7 separate regions of the Homo sapiens genome follow, and all the other regions are linked to region 7. The links are contacts of gene promoters, found by promoter capture Hi-C in human tissues and cell types (Jung and others, 2019). All regions are on one chromosome and are shown on one strand. The core of a region is centred on a gene start or on the middle of the fragment in contact, and the rest is flanking DNA. Distances in the headings are between cores, read along the strand shown.

Region 1 (3,461 bases), core at 1-2,500, 500 kb after region 7:
CGCATCTGCCCATGCTGCATGTAAATAAATTCTTTTTGAAATCGTACATCTTTTCCTTTCCAAGGCAACCTTCAAAAATACCTGTTAAACATTAGTCTTTAAACAACATGCTTCATGTAGGCAGAACTCAGGCGACAGCACGACCAACGCTCACTGGGCTCAGACCAGGGGTCTTGTGACAAAAAACCTACGAACTCATGATGGTGGCGCCCTCACTGCTTGGTCACATTGCTCTTCAGCAGCTTCTGCAGCTTTCTTGGGCTTGGGAAACTGCACTCCTGGACTCATGTCTACCATCCTCATTGTTGGCAAAACAATATTTGAACCGAAACTCACCTGCATCCTCTTCAGTGGGCTGATAAAATGGAAGTGGCACACCCTAAAAACAGGGGAAAAGCTCAAGTAAGGTCTTGCGCCAGGCATCACCTTGGTAAGGAAAGGGGAGGGCACCAGGTTGGGGGTGGTGCAGGTGTGTGATGGGAGGACAGTGGGGAGGAGCGAGAGGGCAGGGGAAGGATGTGCCTCTGTCTTGCTCCCTGGATCTGATGGGACCTGCCATTTTTCTATACTGCTCAGAGGGCAAAGAAACCCAGGTAATGGGAGGTCACTACTCAATTGTCATAAAATACCCAGCAACAAGTGGGAGCAAAACAGGTGCCTAAAGTATCAGTGTACTTCTAGGCAAGGATGGGAGAGAATGGTTTCTTGCTACTTTTCCTGGCATTCTACGAAAATCTCTGGAGGATTGTTGCCTAGAGCAGGGATAGGTAACCTTTCGGCCTCTGGGCCAAATTTGGCTGCAGCCCACTATTTAAATAAAGTTTTATGGGAACACAGCCACAGTCATCTGTTTAAGAGTCCTCTATGGCTGCTTTTGTAGACAAAGGCAGAATTGAGTCATTGTGACAGAGACCATATAGCTACAAAGTCTAAAAGAGTTACTGTCTGGCCCTTTATAGAAAGGGTTTGCTGACCCCTGGCCTAGGGGTGGGTTCCCACTTACAGATGGAGAACTGACTAACAAATAAATGGGCTCCTAAAAAGGACCAGTTTCTAGAACAGACAGCTTCCAGACATACTTTGTCTGAAGCAAACCAAGAGGCAAGTGGGGGTACTGCTGTGTACCTCGTAGAGTTTGGTGGCAACAAGTTTCCTACCAGTGGTGTTGATTCCTTCCATAATTACAACCTGAAAGACAAAAACAAACAGGATTGCTAAGCAGTGGAGATCAATGAGGTCTGGAATACATTATTTTGAGGCAGTTAAAAGCATTGTCCAACTACTCTCATTCTGTAATCATAAACTTAGGGCATTTTTGTAGAAAACGAATTAAGGGCGTTGCATTAGTAATAATAATTATGCTCTATATAAGTGATCTAATTTTCACAACAATCCTATGAGGTAAGAATTATTATTTCCATTTTGTGAGTGAAGAAACTGTAGTTTAGATGGTTAAGTACCTTGTGCACAGTCATGCACCTCATGGAGCGGGGAGTTGGGATTTGAGGCTGCGCAGTCAGGTCCCAGAGCCTGGGTCAGAGCATGGGGGAAACAGGAATCCCAACAGTGGTGTCTGCTCTGGGGCATGTGCTCCAGCTGCACCCCATGGCAGCAGAGACAGGAACTGAGGAGCAGCTGCGCATGGCACAGCACCTACACTACAGGGGTAAAGAGTGCGCCTGCATTCTGGTGGAACTCCTCCAATCTCACCTGTCCAGGAAACAGAGAATATTCCTTAAGCTCAGATAAATCCACTGGAATTTGAGCACCCGAGGAATGTTCCCGGTCTCCCTCGAGAATCACTGACTTGTTGTTCAGCTTCCCGTTGCTATCACAGCCAATCTGGCCCAGCAGAGTGACAGGCTCCTACCAAAGGAAGGTCACAGCATAAGAATGACAGTCTTTGGAGCAGGAGCTCAAAATCTGAAGTCGATAGGGTGAATAGCAAAACAAACTGCAAACAACAAATACATTTCTTGGCAGGGCATTGCTTTGACCCTGAGGTGACTACCGCGTCATCACTGACTCTCAGGATGGAAGAACTCTGAAAGGGCATCTTGTCCACCCATCCACCCAGCACTTGAGCCTTCCTAGGAGGCTGCCTAAGTGTGAGCATCTCTAGTGTAGGGGAACTTGCCCCTGGATGCCTACCCCACCCTGTCCTCACCACCCCAGGGCAGCCCACTGCATCTTTGGGCAGCTATAACTACTTAATAATAGCTAACATTTCTTGAGCTTACTAAATACCATGCACTGTTCTAAAATGTATTCTTAGGCATTTTATATGTATTAACTCATTTAATCCTTGCAACAACCATCGGGTGGATATTACTGTATCCATTTTACAGATGAGGAAAACAAGCAACAGAAAGGTTAGATAATTTAGTCAAGGTCAAACTGTGGGTGAAGCTTGGGTTTGAAACCAGAAATTTGGCTCTAGAGCCATATCCTTAGCCACATACCATACAACCTCTTAACAGGAAGTTCTTTATTAATTGAGCTAAAATCTCTGTCTCCATGGCTTCCTCTGTTCTGTTCCCACTCTTGGGAGAAAACAGAGGAAGTCTCATCTTTCCCAGTGATTGTGCCTCCCTGCCTTCCCTCAATTACTTCCTTCCAAGTCCTCTAACACTTCCTTCTATGACACAGTTCTGCATCACTTCCCCAACTGATCATTCTTTGAATGTAAACATTGACAAAGGTACTTTAAAGAAACTTCTAGAATATATTTCCCCTTAGATTAGAAAACATTCTAGAGAGAAAGCACTGGTATATATGCCAGATTAAACTATGATATAAAGATACTATTGGCAGCAGTTTGTCTATAACAAGAGACCAAACCAGGGGAGAGACTGTGAGTCATTGTCCAGAGAACAAGATTCTGAAAACCCCACCGTCGCTGCTGTCCTTTTATCTCGATACGTGAATGCTTCTATTTGTGGGAAATCCCCGGGGAGCTACCTGACTCACCACCAAGGGAAACAAGGCCTTGAGTCTCTGCTTATGTGCAAGACTCTAATCCAAGTGGGAAGAAAATCACTCTCTGGCCACAAAACCAGACAGCACTTACAAATCTTTCTTCAGAAGGGCCCATTTTCCCAAATTCAACCAAGACAGATGTTCAAACTAGAACACAGACAAGAAGTGAAAAAGGAAGCAAGAAGGATGCCTCTTGGTCATCGATTTAAAAACGTAATATTAATTAGTGAGAACTATTAGAACAACTCTTACCTGTGCTGGGGCTAGCAAAGGAGTGAAAGCTTCAATCTTGTAATGTTCCTTGAGTTCGCTGCCAAGTTCTTCTATCTTACAGGTCAGAACTACAATCCCAGAAGTGGAAAAAAGTATTATGTTTAAGACATTTCACTTGCCAAGAAGAGAAAATACAGCACATTGTAAAATATTAAAGTCAGTCATTTTACAGAAGCAGGAAGGGTGCCTGGACATCTGGCCAGTTTAAA
Region 2 (3,038 bases), core at 539-3,038, 500 kb before region 7:
AACCCTAGCCCTCCTGCCCCTACCCCACAGAAAGAAAAATAGAGTAACTCGGGGTGCGGGGGAGAGGGGGAAAGACAAAGCAACCAAGACCCAGAGAGAGAGCAGAGCCAGGCCAAGGAGTGACAGGGCTGGAGCTGGGGTGTGTGCTGAGGTGCCTTTGGGGGCTCACTCTTCACACAGTAGGGGTTCAGTCTATGGATTCCCGATGTCAAAGAGCAAGGTGGCAGGGGATGGCAAAGGGAGCGCAGGGGGAACCATGGAGCAGGCGGCAGGTCCCAGGAAGAGAAAGGAGAGAGGAAGTGGAGAGCCCGGGAAAGAAGCAGGTGAGGCACCGGGAGGAAGGAGGGAAGGGCTATGGGAAATGGGATTGAGGGAGGGATAAGAGGACCCCTGAAAGGGAATGACAATCAGGGAGGTGTGCGCGGGAGGTGTGAGCAGAGGATGCTGAGCTGAGCCAGCCAGGGCCGAGCTGGGCAGGCTGTTACAGAAACAGGCACGGGGTTTGGGTGGGGGTGGGGACGGAGGGCAGTAAAGTGGGGCCAGGGGCCCCCAACAACCAGCTGGAGGCTGATTGATAGTTCTGTAGTGAGGGGACGGGAGCCAGGCAGAGGAGGCCCTGGAGGAGAGGAGCGGGAGGGGAGGAGGAGGGAGCCTGGGGGAAGCGATGGGTCGGATGCAGGATGAGGAATGGACATTTTGAAGAACCAGGTGTGAGGCTAGGCCAGGGCGAGGGACAGACCAAGGGGTATGTGAGAGACAAAGGGGAAGGGGGACAGGAAGAGGAGGGAAGCTGGAAAATGGAGAGGAAACCTGGGGGGCTGGGAAGCCCCCAACAGGAGGGGTAGGGAAACCCAAGGTGAGCCGGTGGTGGGGGCTAGGTCTCTGGGGGCTGATGAGAGCCAACTGCTGCTTGGTCAGGGAGGGGGCTGGGAAGGCAAAGGGTTAATGGACTCTGAGATCTGTGGGTCCTGTAAACAGATGCAGTTGCCATAGCAACCAGCTCCATCACTCTGGCTGGAAAAACCCACAAAGGCGGGGGGGGGGGGGCAGCAGACAGACAAACTGCCCGACGGACTAATGGAGGCGGCTGGATGGTGGTGGGGGGGGACATAGAAGATAAAGCAACAAAAATGCCAGAATTCCACCCCCCACCTCACGGGCTGCATGGGAGCAGAGGACGAGGGCAGAGGAGGGGGTCAGAGACCGACTGACATACACACAGACAGGCGGGGGCGGCGGAGGAAGGGGGGCCCCGGGAAGAAAGCCGACCACGGGGGGTGTTAATGGGGGCGAAGCCGACAAGCCGACGGCTGGGGGATAGCAAGTTTCCCCTGGGCTCTGAGACCACCCGCCCTGGGTCCCTCCAGCTCCGCGTGGCCCCTGCCCCCCACCCCGCCCCCAGCCCCAGCCCCAGCCCGGCCTTACGTGCCAGATGACAAAGAAGATGAGGGAGGCGCACAGCACCAGGGTGAGCATGTAGCAGAACGCGGCGAAGGTGAACGCCATGGCCCCCGCGCCGGGCGGCGGCCCGGGGGGCGCCAGCGCGGGGCCCGGGCGCAAGGGGACGCCCCCCGGCCCGCGCTTAGGGCCGGCCGGGCATGGCCCGTGGGGCTCGGGGGACGTGGGTGATGCGGCCGGGACCGGGACCGCGGGGCCGTGGGGGGCGCGGGGCGCGGGCCGGTGGGCTCGGGGGGCGCGTCCGCTGCCGGCTGCCCGGGCCCCGATCGCTCATCCTGCGATCCCTCGCCCGCGGCTCCCTCGCTCTCCAGCCCGCGAAGCCGGCGGGGCGGAGCCGGGGGCGGGGCCGCCGCGCGAGCGGCCTCGGGCGGGGCTGGGTCTCCGCGGGCCCCTCGTCTGCCCGCCCGGCTCGGGCGCCACCCCCAGCCCCGACAAGCCCGCGGCCGTTCACCCTCCGGACAGCGTAGACGCGGCCGCCCCCGGCACCCCGCACCCCTCGGCACTCCAGCCACCGGCACAGCCGCACTCGGCCCCCTCGGGCGGGCGCTCAGGGCAAAGGCTGAAGTGCGAGGCACTTGTCACTGTCGGAGACGGCAGAAGCACCTGGCTGGGACACACAATGACGCCAGGACAGGGGCTGAATGGGAGCAGTGGGGTTTTGGGGGGCGCTGAAGGAGGTTGGGCCAGGTGCAGTGGGGGCCCTCTCAGCGGCTGCGCGACCCCACACCTCTGCCGTGTGCCCCGCGGGAGTTGGCGGCGGCACGCCAGGTATGAGCTGATGGCCGCCTGCCTCTTTCCCTGACAGAACGGTGCTGGGCCCTTGGGGACAGACCACAGAAGCACAAGCAGCTTTCCTGGCCTCAGGAAACGGGGTCAAGGGCTTTTGCCAGCAGCCTTAGGACACAGAAACCAAGCCAGGACCCCCGTGCACCCCACCAAGCCCAGGGTTCCAGTTCCATCCCCCCACCCCAAGGCTGGGCTTAGACCACAGACCACACTTGGCCACCACAACTTCCTTGCAAAAACCCTCAGCTCACCCGAGGGCCAATGGAAATTTATTAATTTTTTTTGTCCTTTTCCATCTTTCCCCAAGTGGCTTTTCCTTGCAAAATGCCTGACATGACACCAGAGGGGAACCTGGGAGCGGGGGGCACCCCAAGGGGGCAGCCCAGGGACTTAAATACAAGCTGGAGGGCAGGGCACAGGTGGGACAGGCAAGAGACAGCACGAGGGACATGGCTTCTCAGGGAGACCAAAGACTTGCTTTCTTGCAGGAAGCAGCTGTGCCAGAGGGCAGGGGACTAGGATCCTGGGTGCAGAGTGGGTGAGCAGAGAGGCCCCCAATCCTGGATGGAACCCACATTCCCCAGAGAAGTAGCGGCAGGGGATGAGGGCCTTCCCTGGTGGGCTCCAGAGACGGAGTGGGGAGTGAGCCAGATGTGCTACCTTGGGGAAAGGGAGGAGGTGCTAGCAGAGTGAGGGTTAAGGCTGGTGCCCAGCCTCTGGCACGGTGGGCCTTCCGCCTCCGCCTGACATGGGGACAAAGGGGCACGGTGGGCAGGCAGCGCATGGGTCTGTCT
Region 3 (3,495 bases), core at 679-3,178, 340 kb before region 7:
CCACTGGGATTTACTTGTTCAGGGATTACCTGTCTGCCAGTTGTGAACCTGTTGTGACTAACACAAGCGTGTTTCAGAACAAGGAAACACCCTGATTACTGGAAGTCAAGGGCAAAGTAAAGCCCAAAACAAGGAACTCTCACTTTCCGTCTGGTGTGTTCCCCAGCAGGCCACTGCCTCTGTCTCTAACCAGAGATTACTGTATACAACTATGAAACCACTGGTGATAGAAATCAGAAAATAGAGCATGAGAAGCAAAATCCCACTAGTAATGTCGAACACTAACACATAAAGTGGACTACTGAAGCAAATACCTAAAAGCTAAGTATTAGAGTTGCCCACATTTTTTTTTTTTTTTTTTTGAGGCAGAGTCTTGCTCTGTCACCCAGGCTAGAGTGCAATGGTACAATCTCGGCTCACTGTAACCTCTGCTCCCTGGACTCAAGCAATTCTCCTGCCTCAGCCTCCCGAGTAGCTGGGATTACAGGCATGCGCCGCCATGCATGACTAATTTTTGTATTTTTAGTAGAGACGAGGTTTCACCATGTTGGCCAGGCTGGTCTTGAACTCCCGACCTCAAGTAATCTGCCTGCCTCGGCCTCCCAAAGTGCTGGGATTACAGGCATGAGCCACCATGCCCGGCCTGCCCAGATATTTTAAACAGGACTGATTTTCTTCAATTACTTGAATACCTGAATTATCCCAGTTTTCTATTTTATTTTATCTACACAGGCATAGTTAGACACTGGTTAGAGTAAGACTAGAGGCAAAAGACACCCCTGGTTACTCTACTTGAATCTGTGAGTAATGTGTATTTTCATACACTTTGAATTATTTAACATGACTTAGCTCTCTGACCCTGGAAAATCACTCTGAATCCAGAACATCTTCAAAATAGAGGATGGAATAAAATTGCTTCTAAGATCCTTTTGACTTACTTGGTTTATATCTTCTTTACTATGGGATCAAATCCCATTAAACAGCAAGTCAGTGGCTCAAAATATTTCAAATACTAGAACTTCATTGTAGCAAATGATGCTAAAAGTAGAAATTTAATTGCAATAAGATTTGGTCTACGCATTAATTGATGTGGTACTTTAATTTTTTATTTCCGTAGGTTTTTGAGATTTTGGTGCACCCAACACCCAAGCAGTATACACTGTACCCAATTTGCAGTATTTTATCCCTCACCTGCCTCCTGCCCTTTCACCCGAGTCCCCAAAGTCCATTGTATCATTCTTATGCCTCTGCATCCTCATAGCTTAGCCCCTAGATGCTGTATTTTTAAAAAGAATTTATTGTTCACCAATGTTCATAGCAGCATTATTCACAATGGACAAAAGGTGGAAGCCACCCAAATGTTCATCAATAAAGAGACAGACATGGAAAGAAACAGTTCCTCCTCCTCAATGGGATGTTCTGGTGTCTCCCTGTGGCACCTGGAACTGCGACAGGCCACCTGAGACCATGGGGAGCCAGCGGGCAAGCCTGTACTGAGGATGACAAAGCAGGAGGGCAAAATGAACTTGGCTCCTTGATGCCTTTGCCAGGCTGCTCAGTTAACCAGCACTGGACTCACCCTTGCCCCAGACTTTTGTTTTCTGAAATGATAAACATCTGTGTGTTTAAGTCATTGAGCTGGCTTTTCTGTTTCTTGAAGGTGAAAGCATTCTAACTGATGACACACACTGACCTAAGATGTCTGACACACCATGAGACTTATGCAGTAATGAAAGGCAGAGTTTGATCTCCATAATTAACAAACTCACTGAAAGGCAAAATACACCGTTCTTGTCATTAAAATGCAAGAAAGGCTTCAGAGCAGGTAAAGAACAAGGTTAAAGTGCAGTAAGCAGATCCATACATTTAGCCATTCAATACATAAACGTGGACCCAGAAGTTATCCTGAATGAACCAATTATGCCCCACTTCAGAAATATTAGAAGATGATGACTTAAAATACTGTCTTTATGATCACAACAACCCTAACTATATAACTCTAGGTTATATTATTCCCATTTTATAGATGAAGACACTGAAGCAGAGAAGAAGCTGAGTAACTTGCCCAAAGCCATTATGTCCACAGTTTTCTCTGCCTGGAACTCTTCCTTCTCTTCACTTAGCTAATTCCCACACATCCTTCAGGTTTCAACTTAAGCAATCACTCCTTAGGAAAAAGGCTTCTTTTATGTGTTCAGACAAGGTCCAGAGCTCCTATTATGCTCCACTGCACTCCTGTTCTATGGCAGCATTTTGCACACTTGAGATTAAATATTTGTCTTCCCACTAGAATGCCCATGGCCTGAAACAGTTCCGTCTTTTTTACAACTAGACGGTATTGCCAAAGCTGCGCAGAATGCCTGCCCTTGACAGTCTCACAGTCTGATAGCGAGACAGCAAGTAAACAGTTCCTTGGAGATATTGTGGCTTTAGTTCCAGACCACTGCAATAACGCAAGTGACATGAAATTATTTATTTCCCGGTGCATATAAAAGTTATGTTTACACTATACAGTAGTCTATCAACTGTGCAATAGCATTGTCTTAAAAAAAAAAAAAGTATATACTTTAATTTAAAAATGGGCTGGGTGCGGTGGCTCACGCCTGTAATCCCAGCACTTTGGGAGGCTGAGGTGGGTGGATCACGAGGTCAGGAGATCGAGATCATCCTGGCTAACACGGTGAAACCCCACCTCTACTAAAAACAACAAAAATTAGCCGGGCGCGGTGGCAGGTGCCTATAGTCCCAGCTACTTGGGAGGCTGAGGCAGGAGAATGGCATGAACCCGGTAGGTGGAGCTTGCAGTGAGCCGAGATCACGCCACAGCACTCTAGCCTGGGCGACAGAGCGAAACTCTGTCCCAAAAAAATAAATAAATAAATAAAATAAAAAAATAAAAATGGCTTATTGAGCCAGGCGTGGTGGCTCACGCCTATAATCCCAGCATTTTGGGAGGCCGAGGCAGGTGGATCACCTTAGGTCAGGAGTTCAAGACTAGCCTGGCCAACATGGCAAAACCCTGTCTCTACTAAAAATACAAAAATTAGCTGGACATGGTGGCACGTGCCTATAATCCTAGCTACTTGGGAGGCTGAGACAGGAGAATTGCTTGAACCCAGAAGGCGGAGGTTGCAGTGAGCCAAGACCATGCTACTGCACTCTAGCCCGGGCAACCAAGCAAGACTCCGTCTCATTAAAAAAAAAAAAAAAAAGCTAACAATTTTCTGAGCCCTCTGCAAGTTGCAATCTTTCTCCTGGTGGAGGGTCTTGCCTCAATGTTGATGGCTGCTGACTGATCAGGATGGTGACTGCTAAAGGTTGGGGTATCTGTGACAATTTCTTAAAATAAGACAATGAAGTTTGTCACACTGACTCTTCCTTTCATTAAAGATTTCTCTAAAGTATGCAATACATTTGATAGCATGCTACCCACAGCAGAATTTCTCGCAAAATTGGATTCAGTTCTCTCAAACCTTACTGCTGCTTTATCACTAA
Region 4 (3,539 bases), core at 46-2,545, 290 kb before region 7:
TCAGGCCTATTTTGCCAATGGAAGGAAAGTCCCCAGATGGTTCCAACAGACAGAGAGCAATGGATTGAATTTAGGAACAAGGCAGTAATTTCATACAGCCCTGCAGAGCTGGGAGATTCTGGGACCAGTTTTAGTGGGGGAGGGGAGGTAAAAATACACTTGAGGACACATTAAATAGGGCCCCAAAACTAAGAGCCTAGCGCTTGGGACAGAACGTGTGTAATATGAAGTTCAAATGAACATGTGTGCCGAAGGCTAATGAGAAGCCCCTAGGGTGATTATATGAGCTTTACCTGCAAGAGGTGACAATCGAGTTTGGCACATGCTGAGTCTATTGGGAAATAATAATATCAAGAGATCTATACCACATCCATGTATGTACAGCTCCCGGCGCCGGCGAGGCAGGAGAGTGACTTACTCAGGGAAACTGACTGCCAGGAAGGCCGGATTCGGTCAGCCCAATCGGAGAAAGCCCGGGGCCGAGGCCAGAAGGTCCCTCGGGGAGGACAGAAGGGTGGTCCCGGCCCCAGGCAGAAGGTGGGGCTGCCAGGAGAGGGCGGGTCCCCGTGGCAGGAGTCCCGGGAGGCCTGGCTGGAGCCAGGCCGGGCCGCGGGACAGTCGGGGAGATGGAGGGCGGGGACCCCATGGGCGCTGGGGCGGGGAGGGCTGGGCCCCGGCGGCCACCCCGCTCCCCCGGCGCCCCGCCGCACCCTCCCGCGCTCACCTAGGCACGCAGCTGGACGAGCTCCGGTCCACCTCCCAGGTGGCGTACAGGTTCATCTGCACCGGGGCGGGGGTGCGGCCTGGCCCCGGGCCACCGGGAGGCGCGGAGCCCGAGGCCACCGCCACGGCCATGGAGGTGGAGGTAGACGAGGACGAGGAGGAGGCAGCCGCCGCCGAGGTGGACGAGGACGACGAGGTGGCCTGGGCCAGCTTGGGGGGCGTCGGCTGCTGCGGCGGCTGCTGCTGCTGCTGCTGCGGCGGCGGCTGCTGAGGGGACTGGGCGACCCCGGATCCCCGCTGGCCGCTGCCGCCCCCGGCGCCTCCGGGACCACCGCCCGCCCCTCCGCGTTCCGCCATGGCCCGGCTAGGCGGGGGTTACGGAGGCCGAGGCGACGCCGATCTGGCTCCCAGGCTTCCCCCGCGGCGGCGGCGGCGGGGGCGCGGCAGCCTCCTCAGCCCGCCTGCCCGAGCGCGAGCAGCCAGCGAGCTGCACGCACGCGCGGGGCCTCTGGGCGCGCGGGCCTCGCGCTCGACCGCCGCTGCCTGTTGCGGCTCGCGAGGCCGACACGGGTGGGCGTGTCCGGGAGGGGGCGGGGAGCCCGGCCCGCGCGGCCCCACCCAGCGCGGAGGGGCCGGGCCGGGCGCGCTCGCGCCCTGCGTGCAGCCACGCGCGCCCCTCGCTCCCGCGGAGTAGAAGGGGTGGTCTGTGGCCAGCGCGCGCCCACGGGTCCTGCCCTCAAATCCGCTGCCAGTCTGCCCCCGCTCCTCCCCTCCCCGCCCACGGCCGGCCGCGGCCCCGCCAGCGGAAACCCGGCTTTTCCGGGATTCGGTCCCTGCAGGGAGGGGGCCGCCGCGGGAGCGCGCCTCGGCCCCTCGGGTCTTCGGAGCCAATGCGGAACCCGCCCCCAGCGGTGGGGGTCTGCCCGGGGAAGCCGGCTCTCCGCCTGCCGACCTAGCCCTGCCCTGCGGCCCCGGCAAACAGAGAGGTCGGCGGAGACCCGGGGCCCGCTGCCACCGCGGGTGCCTGTGATCCGGGAAGTTCCCGCCCCGAGGGCAAGCGGGGGCTCAGGGACCTGGAGTCCAGAAGGTTCTTCGCATAAGTGAATTCTCAAGCTACCCCGGGGCCCATCTGGAGCCAACCTTCCTCTTCTTTCCCTACCCCCCAAATGCCTCTTTAGAGTGCCAGTGCTTTGTTGCTTACCAAATTTCTAAAATTCCATTCCTCCTAAGGCCTAGCTCAGCTGCCACGTCCTATCTGGATCATGCCCCCCACAACCCCGAGACCATCTTGAACCCTCCGGCAAGTGAGCGCCTCCACTGGTGCACTTAAACACCAACAGTAGTACAACAGCAGCGCATGACTACCCTCCCCACAGGCTGGCAAATGCCCATGGGAGCCAGTGATCCAGCCTGCTCTAGTCTGTCAGAAAGGCTGCTCAGGACCAGATTACAACCTGGAGAAAGTAAGTCCCCCCATCCCACATACAAATCCCAAACCCCAGCGACTAGTGTTGCTTGAACCCAAGGGTTCATATGGACTCAAGACAATTTAGCTTTTGAGCTATGTTGTCGCACAGGTAAGGACTTGAACTTCTGGTCACAAGGTCAGTTGGGAAGGCCTGCCCTGGCCTACTTCCCAAGCCCACTGTTACTTCCTCTGCCGCGCTAGGGCGCTAATCTGGCTATTTTTACTCCCCAAGGACAAAGTAGTAAGGTCAAACCAGACCTAGAGGTACTTCCCCCAAGCCTTCCTACAAAGCAGGGCAGTGGTGAAACACAGATTTCAGCCTGGGGTTGGCGTCACCACCAGTCAAATGCGCCGTCTAATCCCAGTTTATGTTCGTGGTTACTGGGGCAGCCCAGTGATTGTAGAAAGAGACTATTTTAGTCCTTTTGCAAGAAGGGGCTAAAAGGAGATGAGGGAGGCTCAGGAGTGTTAAATATTCATCTCTTTCCTTGGGAAACAGCTTTATTTACAAAACAGGTCTAAAATAAGAACATGAAATGACAAGTCCTTGGGAACTGCGGGAGAGGTGGTTCTTGTGTGAAGCCCAGGCATCCAGACGTAGGGCCAAAAAAAGGGCTAGTGTGAGGGGACCTAAAACTTGAACTCCTTATATTTCTTGCTGCCCCCACGGCTGTCCTGGGGCTGAGCTTTCCGTTTTTTTTGCTGTATAGGGAGAAAGAGACACAGGTTAAGACAGGTTGAACCACCCCCGGACCCCCAAAACAAGGGTGGGCAGCCTGACATAGACATAGAAGTCTGTGGGAAAGGCGCTGAATCTGAATTCTCTTCGAGCTCCCTCTCAGACTTGGCTGAGTTCCTCCCCCTCATCGTCCTTAAAGAGGGCAGCCCACTGGAGGATTTCTAAGACTTCCAAATCTAAGGAAGCACAGAGCAGCAAGCAGAGGCCACCCTCACTCTCACCACTAGAGGGCACCATGCCACTGAAAACGGCAGGCCAGGGTCCCTGGCTCTCACCCAGCCCAGCGCCCCTGGAAGCGCCTACCTTCTGTTTGGCAGCGTGCTCAGCCACCATGTCACTGAAGTCCTCCTTCTCTACTTGAGCCTGCTGCTCCCGCACATGCTCCTCATACTTCTGGGTCATGGCCATAGGATCCAGCTCCAACTCTTCAGGCGCCAGCGCCACTTCCACACCTTGCAGCTCAGGAGCCGGGCCCTTCCGGCTCATAACCTGGAAAGGAGATCAGGGCCTGGTCATCTCCAAAGAGTCAGAGAAGCCCTAGCTTCTGCTGCCTTTCTCAGCCTCCAAAAGCAGTATCCTCCAAGTACTCACCGTGGACATGTCATAAAT
Region 5 (3,234 bases), core at 20-2,519, 410 kb before region 7:
GATCACACCTGACAGATGTACAGATGTAAATCTTTAGCAAGAGGAGATAATCCACACAAACAAAACATACATCATTTGGCAGGAAATAGTTAAATGGTCACAAATTCTATTTCAGCTGCATTTTGCTCCAAATATGCAGAAAATCTTCAGTGCCACAAATCAAGAAATTCCCCGCAACTCAAAAGTGACAGGATTGTCCCTCACTGTGGAGTCTCAGTAACTCTGCTCTGACTTTACCTTGGCCTTACCACAGCAGGGCCACCCTGGACTTCCAGCAGGAGTGGGAGGGAGACTCTGGAAGCTGCCTTTCTATGGCTGCCTGGGTGGTCAAAGTCTTTACACATTCTTCTCCTGGGAGAGGTTCTGGGGAACGGTACACATGAGGGATGTTGCTTACCAGAGTCATGACAAGTCCAGAGAATCCGGCTGGATTTCATACCTCTTTTTTCCTCCGTGCTGAGGCCCTCTAGGCCCTGCTCAGGCCCCTGTCTTGCATCTCCACAGCCCTCCCTCAGCTCCAGCCACACTAACTTTCCTTTGGCTCCGTGGCAGTGCCACCCTCTCTCGCCTCAGGGCCTTTGGAGGCTGCTGTTCCTTCTGTTGGCACCACCCTGCCACCTAACGCCTCCTCAGCCTTGGGTTATGCATTTTTGCCAGGAGAACTTCCCCCGATGCCTTGCAAAGTCTGTGATGTGTCCCCAGCACAATTCCTATCATGCCACTGGAGTGTAACTTCCGGCGGGCAGGCAGCAGGCTTGCCTCTCCACCGCTCTCTCCCCAACATCTGCCCAAATGCTGGGCACAGTATATAGTTGCTCAGCAAATATTTGTTACATTAAGTTTCCTAAAATGGCTTCTAGCTAAAATCAGATTAACAAGAGTATGTGAAGAAATTAATATAATTCATGTTTTGTTTTTTTTTTAAAGGAGGACAAATCCAGGTCAACAGAACTAAATTCTGGTTTTGAATTAACCTCACTCAAGAACTTTCTTTCTTTTTTTTTTGAGACAGAGTCTCACTCTGTCTCCCAGGCTGGAGTGCAGTGGCATGATTTTGGCTCACTGCAGCCTCCACCTCCCGTGTTCCAGCAATTCTGCTGCCTCAGCCTCCTGGGTAGCTGGGATTACAGGCACCCACTATCATGTCTGGCTAATTTTTGTATTTTTAGTAGAGACCGGTTTCACCATGTTGGCCAGGCTGGTCTCGAACTCCTGACCTCAGGTGATCCGCCTGCCTCGGCCTGGCAAAGTGCTAGGATTACAGGCGTGAGCCACCACGCCCAGTCACCCAAGTACTTTCAAAGATCTGCTGACTAACACAAAGAAAAACAAATAAATCTCTTTCTTTGCTTTAAGCTAGAATCAAAATCAAATAAAATGTATGAAAGCTTATCAGGTCTCTTCATCTATATCATTTTACCTAGACCTCAAAAACAGGACTGTGTGGATGTGTGTTGGGGGGCTCACTGTTCTACGCATGCAACAGAAAAACATTTCAAGTGGAGTAGTGACCTGCCCAAATTCACTTACAGCCAGTAAATGACAGAGCTGGATTCTAACTAATCTCTTTGTGGTGGACCAAATACCCAGCCCCCACCACCCAGATGTCATCTCCTAATCCCCAAAACCTGTGAATATGGTACCTTGGCAAAGTCCCATGGCAAAAGGGACTGTGCAGATGTGATTAAGTTAAGGCTCCTGAGATGGGGAGATTATCCTGGATTATCTGGGTGGACCCAATATGATCACAAGAGCCTTTAAAAGAGGGGGCCAGGGAGGAAAGAGTCAAAGGAGGAAGCAGGGACTGGAGATATGGCTGATGGCCTTGAAGATGGAGGGAGGGGGTCAGGAGCCAAGGAATATGCAGCCTCAAGAAGCAGGAAAAGGCAAGAAAACAGTCCTTCCTTGCAGCCTCCAGAAGGAGCACCACCCTGTCCACACCTTCCGTGCTGCCCAGTGAAACCTATTTTGGACTTCTGACCTGCAGAAATGCAAGATAATAAACGTGTGTTGTGTGAAGTCACGAAGTTTGTGGCCACTCGTCACAGCAGCAGTAGGAAGTGAACCACCCCTCATCCCAGGGCCTGGCCCTTCCCCATCACGTCACCGCCTCCTCAGCCTGTGACCTGGGTGCCCTCAACTCTGATGTCCTAAAACACTCTCCTGACATCTGTTGCTCTGGAGCCATCTGGGTTCATGCTGTTTCCTCCAAAATCCCCCCTTCAATGACTGCCCACAGTACCGCCTGTTTCTCCCTTCCCTTCAGAGCAGAGATGTGCTGTCCCACAGGGAACTCTGGTTCTACTGATATCAAAGGGATTATTACAGTTCACAAATGGCTATTCAGAAATGTAGTTAACTCCTGCAGTCCCAGCTACTCAGGAGGCTGAGGTGGGAGGACTGCTTGAGCCCAGTAGTTCGAGGCCAGCCTGGGCAACATAGAAAGATCCCATTCTCTTAAAAATAAAAAGAAATGTGGGAGGCTGAGGCAGGAGAATCGCTTGAACCCGGGAGGTGGAGGCTGCAGTGAGCCAAGATTGCGCCATTGCACTCCAGCCTGGGTGACAGAGGGAGACTCCATCTCAAAAAACAAACAAACAAACAAACAAAAACAAATGTAGTTAACTACGTACATTGTTTAACTGAATTTTGTGCCTTCATCAAGGCAAAAAATGATGGCTCAAAATGAAATGGGACATGACTGGGATGAGCCAATGGAAAAGACTGAATATGCCCAACGTTCGTCCTCATCTGAGGCTTGCCAAAATCAAATAAAATAGAAACAAATCTCTGAAATTCAAATGTTTTATTTGAGAAGAAAAAAACTGCTGCAATTGGGAGCATACCTGTAGATCAGGTAGTCTTCAGTATGTCCAAAGAACAAAGAGAAGCTTAGATGTTTTATAAAAAAGAGAAATGTTACTATTGCTCTTTGAGAAAGTTCATCGGCACAAGAAAGGTTTTGGGAAACTGGCAATCTCTGATAGGTGAGTGAGAGTGGTGGGCAAAGCTAGTCTTAGAGCTGCAGCACGTCGTCACAGTAGACATCAGATAAAACAGGTTTCAGGTTATAGCAGGCAGTTTCAGCAGCCAGGTTTGCAGAGAATTCCATTTCTGGAGCAATGCCTTGAGTGCCTTTCCCCTAGTTTCTCGGCTCTGTTTTGGTTGGGTATGACGAGGATAACTCAATGTGTATGATCAACTTTTGCAGACTGCTAATCATGAACGCTTCTG
Region 6 (3,248 bases), core at 330-2,829, 450 kb after region 7:
ACCTCACTACGTTTAACTCCCAAAACCTAGGCAAGTCTGATACTCCCCCAGTACAATGAGAATCTTCCTTTTTATTTTTGGAGAAACCTGTGTAAAACATCCCCTTACAATGGGATGAGGGAAGTCAACAAAGACGCAGGGAAACAAAGAAAGAACATCTGAGTCAGGAAGGATAACTGGATAAATGGTAGATCAACAGTGTCATTTCTAAATTGAGAAAAATGTCAGCCTGAAGAAAGAGCTGGGGAAACTGGAGTGGGCAGATCAGAGAGAAAGACAATAGCGTTGGGAGGAGGGGTGGCTGAAAGAGACAGCAGGATAGAGCAGAAAGCAACTTAAAAAAAAAAAAAACAAACCACAAGAGGAGGAAAGGCACTTAGCTTAATGGAAGTGGGAAAGCATTCTCAAAGAAAAGGCTTCAGGCAGGAGGGAGAAGCAACTTACTCTTTAAAAAGGCTCTTAGGAAGAGTGGGGCTCAGGCCACGACAAAGACAGATGAGAAGCTGTGAGTCCCTTAGAAGAGTTACCGAACCTTTACCTCGTCATCCAGTCAAAATGCAAAAACCCTGACTGGACAGCTAGACACCACTCAATTTTCCCACCCTTGCACCAAGCCCAACATACCCATTAAAAGAAGCTCTATTCGCCCACCATGCATTAACCCAATCTAAAACTCATTCTGATTCTTCTGTAGGAATAAATCAAGTCCCAAAGCATCTTTAACTCACAGGAAGCAGTTCATAGGCCAGCGTCCATGGCCCCAACAGCTATTAACTTTAACTTTGCTTGAAATCTGACCAGCACAATGGTATCGTATAATAGGAAGAATGCCCACCTAGATGCCCCTTTAGGCTAAGCTGTCCTGAACGGCTTCGGTCCAGTTGCAGGTTTTTGATGGCTGCTACTGGACGGGGCCAAGGCCCACTCCCCTGAAGTTCCTTCCCTTCTGGATCCGCTCCTCGATAAATTCTTCCCAAGAATATTTGTAGTCTTAGGTACCTGCCACCCAAGATCCTCCCAAACATCACGGGGCTGCCTGGAACTGAAACAGCCAGCCCCGCAGTGCACTCCGCAGGGGCCGCCGAGCCTGTTGCTGCAGCGAACGGGACGGGACGGGGCGGGGTGGGCGGCGGGCCAGCCGTAGGGCCGCCCGGGCCTCGGCCCCGCTCCTCCGGACTGAGGCGTCTCGGGAGAGGACCGGGACGGTGAGTCTCGCGTGCAGGCAGGGCGCCATGCTCTGGAAACCGTCAGCCCCGAGGAACGCTGAGGCCACACAGCCCCGCAGGGATGCCGCCCGTCGGGGCTCCAGTGTGCCCCCACCAGGGCCTCCACAAGTTTCCAAAGAAGCGCAACGTCTTCTCCGGAGTCTCCTGTTGCCCTCCCCACCAGGAGTCGCAACATGGCTTTCCCGGGGATGTCCCTCTCTCCGCCTAGTCCCTTCCCCCACCGCCCCCTACTCCCAGGCCCTTTACAAAACCTGCCGCCCTAGGAGAGAAAGAAACGACCACTCACAGCTTCACTACATTCTCCACCACAGCCGCCATCTTCCCTGTTCCTCTGCCTCGGGCCGAGAAGCCCCACAGTCCGCAGCGCGCAGGCGCCGGGACCGCACCGGGGTACCAGGTTCCTTGCCCTCTGCGCAGGCGCCGTCCGGGCGCGCGCACTAGAGCGAGCACTGAAGAAAGAGCTTTACGCCTGTTCGCGGGGGCCGGGTAGGAAATGCGTGGACCCCACGGGAGCCCGACGCGCAGGCGCAACCGGAGATTGGCATGCATCCCGGAGCTCCGGTTCGAGGCTTGCCTCTAATATTTAGAGGAGCAGGAGCCGGGGCCGGGCGCGGTGGCTCACGCCTGTAATCCCAGCACTTTGGGAGGCCGAGGCGGGCGGATCACGAGGTCAGGACATGGAGACCATCCTGGCTAACACGGTGAAACCCCGTCTCTACTAAAAATACAAAAAATTAGCCGGGTGTGGTGGCGAGCGCCTGTAGTCCCAGCTACTCGGGAGGCTGAGGCAGGAGAATGGCGTGAACCCGGGAGGCGGAGTTTGCAGTGAGCCGAGATCGCGCCACTGCACTCCAGCCTGGGCGACAGAGCGAGACTCCTTCTCAATAAATAAATAAATAAATAAAGGAAAAAAAGAAAAAGAAAAAAGATTAGCTGGGCATGGTGGTGCATGCCTGTAATCCCAGCTACTAGGGAGGCTGAGGTGGGAGGATCACTTGAGCCCAGGAGTTTGAGGCTCCAGTGAGCCACTGGAGCCACATCACTGCACTCCAGCCTGGGCAACAGAGCGAGGCTCCATCTCAAGAAAAAAAAAAAAAAAAAGGAAAAAAAATATATATACATATATATATACACATATATATATACACATATATACATATATATATATACACATATATATACATATGTATATATATACATATGTATATATATATATATATATATAAATATAATCACTAAAGCTGAAAATACACATACCCTATGACCCAGCAAAGTCCACTCCTGGATATACACACAAGAAAGCTGTACAAGAAGCTGAGTGCAATGCCTCATGCCTGTAATCCCAGCTACTTGAGAGGGTGAGGTGGGAGAATCACTTGAGCCCAGGGGTTCAAGACCAGCCTGGGCAACATAGCAAGATCCTGTCTCTTAAAAAAAAAAAACAAAAAAAAACAGGCCAGGAGCATTGGTTCACGCTTGTAATACCAGCACTTTGGGAGGCCACGGTGGGCGGATCACGAGGTCAGGAGATCGAGACCGTCCTGGCTAACATGGTGAAACCCCATCTCTACTAAAAATACAAAAACAAAATTAGCCGGGCATGGTGGCGGACGCCTGTAATCCCAGCTACTGGAGAGGCTGAGGTGGGAGAATGGCGTGAACCTGGGAGGCGGAGTTTGCAGTGAGCCAAGATCGCGCCACTGCACTCCAGCCTGGGTGACAGAGCGAGACTCCGTCTCAAAAAAAAAAAAATAAAGCTGTACAAGAATGTTCGTAACAACATTATTTGTTTATATTTATTTATTTATTTATTTTGAGACGGAGTTTTGCTCTTGTCGCTCCTTAACAAATTCTTCCTTCCAGCCCAGGCTAGAGTGCAGTGGCACTATCTCAGCTCACTGCAACCTCCACCTCCTGGGTTCAAGTGATTCTCCTGCCTCAGCTTTCCGAGTAGCTGGGATTACAGGTGCCCCCAGCTAATTTTTGTATTTTTTGTAGAGACAGAGTTTTACCACGTTGGCC
Region 7 (3,538 bases), core at 54-2,553:
TGGGAGTTATCACTCCCATTTTATAGATGGGGAAACTGAGGCACCTAGAGGGAAGTAGTTTGGGGCTGCTGCCTGTGAGTCAACTGTGGAGCCAGGGCCTAGAGGAGCCGGGACCGGGCCTTCTGGCTGGACCTGTCCCTCCGAGTGGGTCTCTATCTCTCCATCCCCAAGGGCACCCAGACAGCCTCCTTTTTGGCACTCTCCACCCCTCAACTCTCCACCACCTCCCATCTGGAGCAGGATGGGGTAGGGAGAGGCCAGCTGGCACTGGCTTGCATGGGGGCTCAGGCCTGTTTCATCTTCAAAGCGGCTAATTGGAGCCAGAGGGGTGGTGAGGTTTGGGCGCCGGCGGTTCTGTGCCCTGGAAACCGGTGGTCTGTGGGGCACCTGCAACCTGGGCCTCTGGCCTGGGAGAGACCGCCGCCCAGACCCCCGAATGCCCCCAAACAGCCAGAATCCAGCCCACTGAAGTCTGGAGTGCTGGGTTCCGGCCCGGCTTGGCCCCAGATCTCGGTTGGCAAGGCCGCCCTCCTCCTGGGCCTGTTTTCCCCATCGCTAGGCATGCCTCGAGCCCCGTGACCGGCCAGGCCCTGACAGCCCGCACTTCCCGAGTATGGATCCCGTTGTTTTCGACTTAGGGCCCTGCCCCGCCCTCGCCGTCACGACCCCTGCGGGCCGCCAGCGCGGCCTCGGGCAAACAAAGGTCAGAAGCTCCTGGCTGGCCGCAACCGCGGCGCCGGCTCCTCGCCCCCAAGCCGAGCGGGCTGGGGGCCCGGGCAGGCGTCAGGGAAGCGAAGCCAAGCCCTGCGGCGCCCGCCGGACCGGTTCAGCTGGGGCGCTTTTCCTGCGGGCGCCCTGCGACCGCACCTTGGTCACCCCCAGGGGCCACTCCGGGAGCCCCAGGACCCGCACCCACGCCCCCCGGGGCCGCGCGTCTGGCGCAGGGTGCGGTGTGCCCGGGCGCCGGCGGGGGGCGCGCTGGCTGCCGCCCTGCGCGGCTTGGCGGGCGCTGGTGGGACCGGGCCGCTGTCCGCCGAGGGCCGCGGGATCGCAGCCCTGCGCCGCGGTACCCGGCATCTGGGGCCCAGGCCCACCCCGCTCCGCCACCCCTACCCACTCCCCTCCGCCTTTCCTGCCCCGGCCTGCGGCGGTTTCGGGGAAGGGGGCCTGCGCGGCGGGACAGTTAGTCAGCCCCCGCGAAACCTGCGAGTCGACACCTGCGGGAGGCGGTGGCCCCGTTACGCCCCGCCCCTCCCCGCCCGGACTCGGCCGCCCCCGCGCCGCGCCCCGCCCCGCGCCGCCAGCCCGGAAGGAGCCGGCCGGCCTGAGTGCCCGCGGCGGCTGAGTCAGGCGGCGAGCGCGGCCCGTTACCGCCGGCGCCGGGGGCCGGGGTGGCGCTGTGGTTTCGGTGCGGGCCGCGGGCGGGAGGGAGGCGGCCTAACGAGCTCTCGGCACGCACCCTCCCCCGCCCTGCTCCTGTCCTGTCCCGCGAGGGCCCCGGCGCCCAGCTCTGGCGTCGGCCCCGAGAGCCCTGGTCTCACCGTGGGAGCCGGGCGCGGGTCCCGCCGGCATCTGCGCGGCGTCTGGGGGTGACCGCAGCCCCTCGGGGTCGGCAGCGGGCCCCGCGCTCCCGGTGGCTGCGGCCTGAGGGTCCCTCTTCCCTGCGCAGGGGCCCGCGCGCCTCACCATGGGGCCCCTGAGCCGGGACGCCTGGGCCCAGCGCTTGGGGGCCTTCCGGGCCAGCCCGTCTGCCTTCATGGCAGGTCCCGAGGGGGAGGATTTGGGTCGCGACCTGCTGAGCGACCTGAGAAGTGAGAAGCTGAGCGAACAGACCAAGGTAGGCCCCCACGCGTCCCCTGCGCCGTTCCGCAGGGTCACCCCAGCCCGCCGCGTCATGAACCTCATCTTCGTGATTCCCTCCTAATCCCCCATCCAGGTTTCCCTGCTGGCCCTGAGCATGGAGTACCCTGCGCAGCTGTGGCCCGACGCCTCTGCGGCCGAAGTGGCCGCCACCTCCCTGTTGGACACCTTGGTCCTCCTACCCCCGCGGCCCTCAGCTCTCCGTCGGCCACTGCTGCTGGCGGCCACCACTGCCCTGGCGGCGGGCGGCGCGCTGGGCCCCACCTCGGGCGCCTCCTGCCGGCTCCTGCCCCTACTGCTCGGCCTGGCCGCGGGTAGCGATCTGGGGCGAGGCTTTGTCCCCGCCTCGGAACAGCGCCCCTTGCAGGCCACGGCCTGCGAGTGCCTGCGAGAGCTAGAGAGCTGCAAGCCCGGGCTGCTGGGGGGCTCCCTGGGGTTGCTGCGGGGCCTGCTGGGGCAGGAAGGCCCTGTCCAGCCACTCAGCCTGTTGCTGGCCCTCGCTTTGCGCAACACCTTGGTGCTCCAGTCCCGGGTTGGGGCTGGCCTGGGGGGACTGCTCACGGATAAGGTCTCCCCAACTGGGGGTGGTCCCTGGGATTGGACACTAGTGGAGGAGGGCGATGGACGCCTTCAGCCCCAGGCACCCAGCTGGCCGGCAGCTGAGGAGGGAGAGGGGGAGCGTAGCCTTACAGCACGAGAGCACAGCCCTGAGGAGGCGCGGGAGCTGCGGGCTGCGGTGATCCAGCTTCTGGACACCTCCTATCTGCTCACTCCTGTGGCCCAGGCCCAGCTCCTGTGGCTGCTGGGCTGGGCCCTGCGGGGTCTGCAGGGACAGCCACCGGCACTCTTCAAGCCGCAGCTGGTACGGCTGCTAGGCACAGCACAGCTGACACTGTTGCACGCCATGCTTGCGCTCAAGGCGGCCTTTGGTGAGGCCTTGTTCACAGCCCAGGATGAAGCGTTGCTGCTCCGCCGGCTCACCTTGGCTGCCCAGCACCCTGCTCTGCCTCCGCCCACCCATCTCTTTTACCTTCACTGCGTCCTGAGCTTCCCTGAGAACTGGCCGCTGGGCCCTGAAGGTGAGGAGGCTGCCCCACTGCTGCTAGGGCCCCAGCTATGCCGTGGTCTCCTGCCCAGTCTCCTGCATGACCCAATGGCCCTCCTGGCCCGCCTGCATTTACTGTGCCTGCTCTGTGCCGAGGAGGAAGAAGAGGAGAAAGGCCAGCTTCCAAGCCCACGGCACTACCTGGAAGAGCTGCTGGCTGGCTTGCGGCAGCGGGCAGCCCTGGATGGGGGCCCCCGGGCCTTGGCCACTCTCTGCTTCCAGGCCTCGTATCTGGTGGCCTGCTGCCTGGCTGGGCAACCTACGGTGCTGACCCCCTTGATCCACGGACTGGCCCAGCTGTACCAAGCCCGGCCCATGCTGGCTCCCCACTTTGTGGACCTCTTGGATCAGGTGGACTCTGAGCTGAGGGAGCCCCTGAAGGTGGTGTTGCGGCAGGTGGTGGTGTCCAGGCCGGGCAGGGATGAAGCTCTTTGCTGGCACCTGCAAATGCTGGCAAAGGTGGCAGATGGAGATGCCCAGAGTGCTACCCTCAACTTTCTACAGGCCGCGGCTGCCCACTGCACGAACTGGGACCTACAGCAGGGCCTGCTGCGGGTCTGCCGGGCGCTGCTG

The links. Contacts are between HindIII fragments. The study calls those that stand out against the background at their distance.
Region 1: a fragment that was not itself captured here is called in contact with the fragment with the promoter of AP5B1 in region 7 in 2 of the 25 tissues and cell types used here (dorsolateral prefrontal cortex and spleen).
Region 2: the fragment with the promoter of CNIH2 here is called in contact with the fragment with the promoter of AP5B1 in region 7 in 1 of the 25 tissues and cell types used here (lymphoblastoid cells).
Region 3: a contact is called between a fragment that was not itself captured here and the fragment with the promoter of AP5B1 in region 7, in 1 of the 25 tissues and cell types used here (dorsolateral prefrontal cortex).
Region 4: a contact is called between the fragment with the promoter of PACS1 here and the fragment with the promoter of AP5B1 in region 7, in 2 of the 25 tissues and cell types used here (heart right ventricle and lymphoblastoid cells).
Region 5: a fragment that was not itself captured here is called in contact with the fragment with the promoter of AP5B1 in region 7 in 2 of the 25 tissues and cell types used here (dorsolateral prefrontal cortex and lymphoblastoid cells).
Region 6: the fragment with the promoter of DPF2 here is called in contact with the fragment with the promoter of AP5B1 in region 7 in 1 of the 25 tissues and cell types used here (spleen).

Annotation. Positions count from the first base shown.
Region 1 is chr11:65,279,397-65,282,857 of GRCh38, reverse strand. POLA2 (DNA polymerase alpha 2, accessory subunit) reads right to left here. Exons shown (of 18, transcript NM_002689.4): 7 at 3,232-3,320; 8 at 1,711-1,866; 9 at 1,126-1,188; 10 at 337-379. Among named protein-coding and RNA genes, the nearest start is that of POLA2, 19 kb to the right of the region's middle. RefSeq lists an enhancer at 2,389-3,461. The HindIII fragment of the contact is 6,666 bases long and covers 1-3,461 here.
Region 2 is chr11:66,276,925-66,279,962 of GRCh38, reverse strand. It overlaps CNIH2 (cornichon family AMPA receptor auxiliary protein 2), which reads right to left and starts at 1,788. Exons shown (of 6, transcript NM_182553.3): 1 at 1,426-1,788. The coding sequence starts at 1,506. RAB1B (RAB1B, member RAS oncogene family) reads right to left here. Exons shown (of 6, transcript NM_030981.3): 6 at 2,471-3,038. It overlaps LOC107984340 (a long non-coding RNA gene), which reads left to right and starts at 1,438. Exons shown (of 2, transcript XR_001748274.1): 1 at 1,438-1,468. RefSeq lists a silencer at 1,683-2,012. The HindIII fragment of the contact is 9,186 bases long and covers 1-3,038 here.
Region 3 is chr11:66,122,907-66,126,401 of GRCh38, reverse strand. All of the region lies in intron 1 of PACS1 (phosphofurin acidic cluster sorting protein 1), which reads right to left. Among named protein-coding and RNA genes, the nearest start is that of PACS1, 54 kb to the right of the region's middle. The HindIII fragment of the contact is 8,035 bases long and covers 1-3,495 here.
Region 4 is chr11:66,068,028-66,071,566 of GRCh38, reverse strand. It overlaps PACS1 (phosphofurin acidic cluster sorting protein 1), which reads right to left and starts at 1,295. Exons shown (of 24, transcript NM_018026.4): 1 at 725-1,295. The coding sequence starts at 1,080. SF3B2 (splicing factor 3b subunit 2) reads right to left here. Exons shown (of 22, transcript NM_006842.3): 20 at 3,522-3,539; 21 at 3,234-3,419; 22 at 2,259-2,893. The coding sequence ends at 2,822. RefSeq lists silencers at 351-555, 616-765, 776-905, 1,056-1,105, 1,116-1,735 and 1 more and an enhancer at 3,283-3,442. The HindIII fragment of the contact is 13,254 bases long and covers 1-3,539 here.
Region 5 is chr11:66,189,794-66,193,027 of GRCh38, reverse strand. All of the region lies in intron 1 of PACS1 (phosphofurin acidic cluster sorting protein 1), which reads right to left. LOC105369354 (a long non-coding RNA gene) reads right to left here. Exons shown (of 2, transcript XR_950219.2): 2 at 2,792-3,234. Among named protein-coding and RNA genes, the nearest start is that of KLC2, 66 kb to the left of the region's middle. The HindIII fragment of the contact is 5,080 bases long and covers 1-3,234 here.
Region 6 is chr11:65,332,183-65,335,430 of GRCh38, reverse strand. It overlaps DPF2 (double PHD fingers 2), which reads right to left and starts at 1,579. Exons shown (of 11, transcript NM_006268.5): 1 at 1,513-1,579. The coding sequence starts at 1,544. RefSeq lists a silencer at 1,138-1,227 and an enhancer at 1,278-1,327. The HindIII fragment of the contact is 14,713 bases long and covers 1-3,248 here.
Region 7 is chr11:65,778,741-65,782,278 of GRCh38, reverse strand. AP5B1 (adaptor related protein complex 5 subunit beta 1) reads left to right here and starts at 1,303. Exons shown (of 2, transcript NM_138368.5): 1 at 1,303-1,837; 2 at 1,937-3,538. The coding sequence starts at 1,688. RefSeq lists enhancers at 1-589, 1,319-2,221 and silencers at 850-1,589, 1,630-1,809, 1,960-2,229. The HindIII fragment of the contact is 21,769 bases long and covers 1-3,538 here.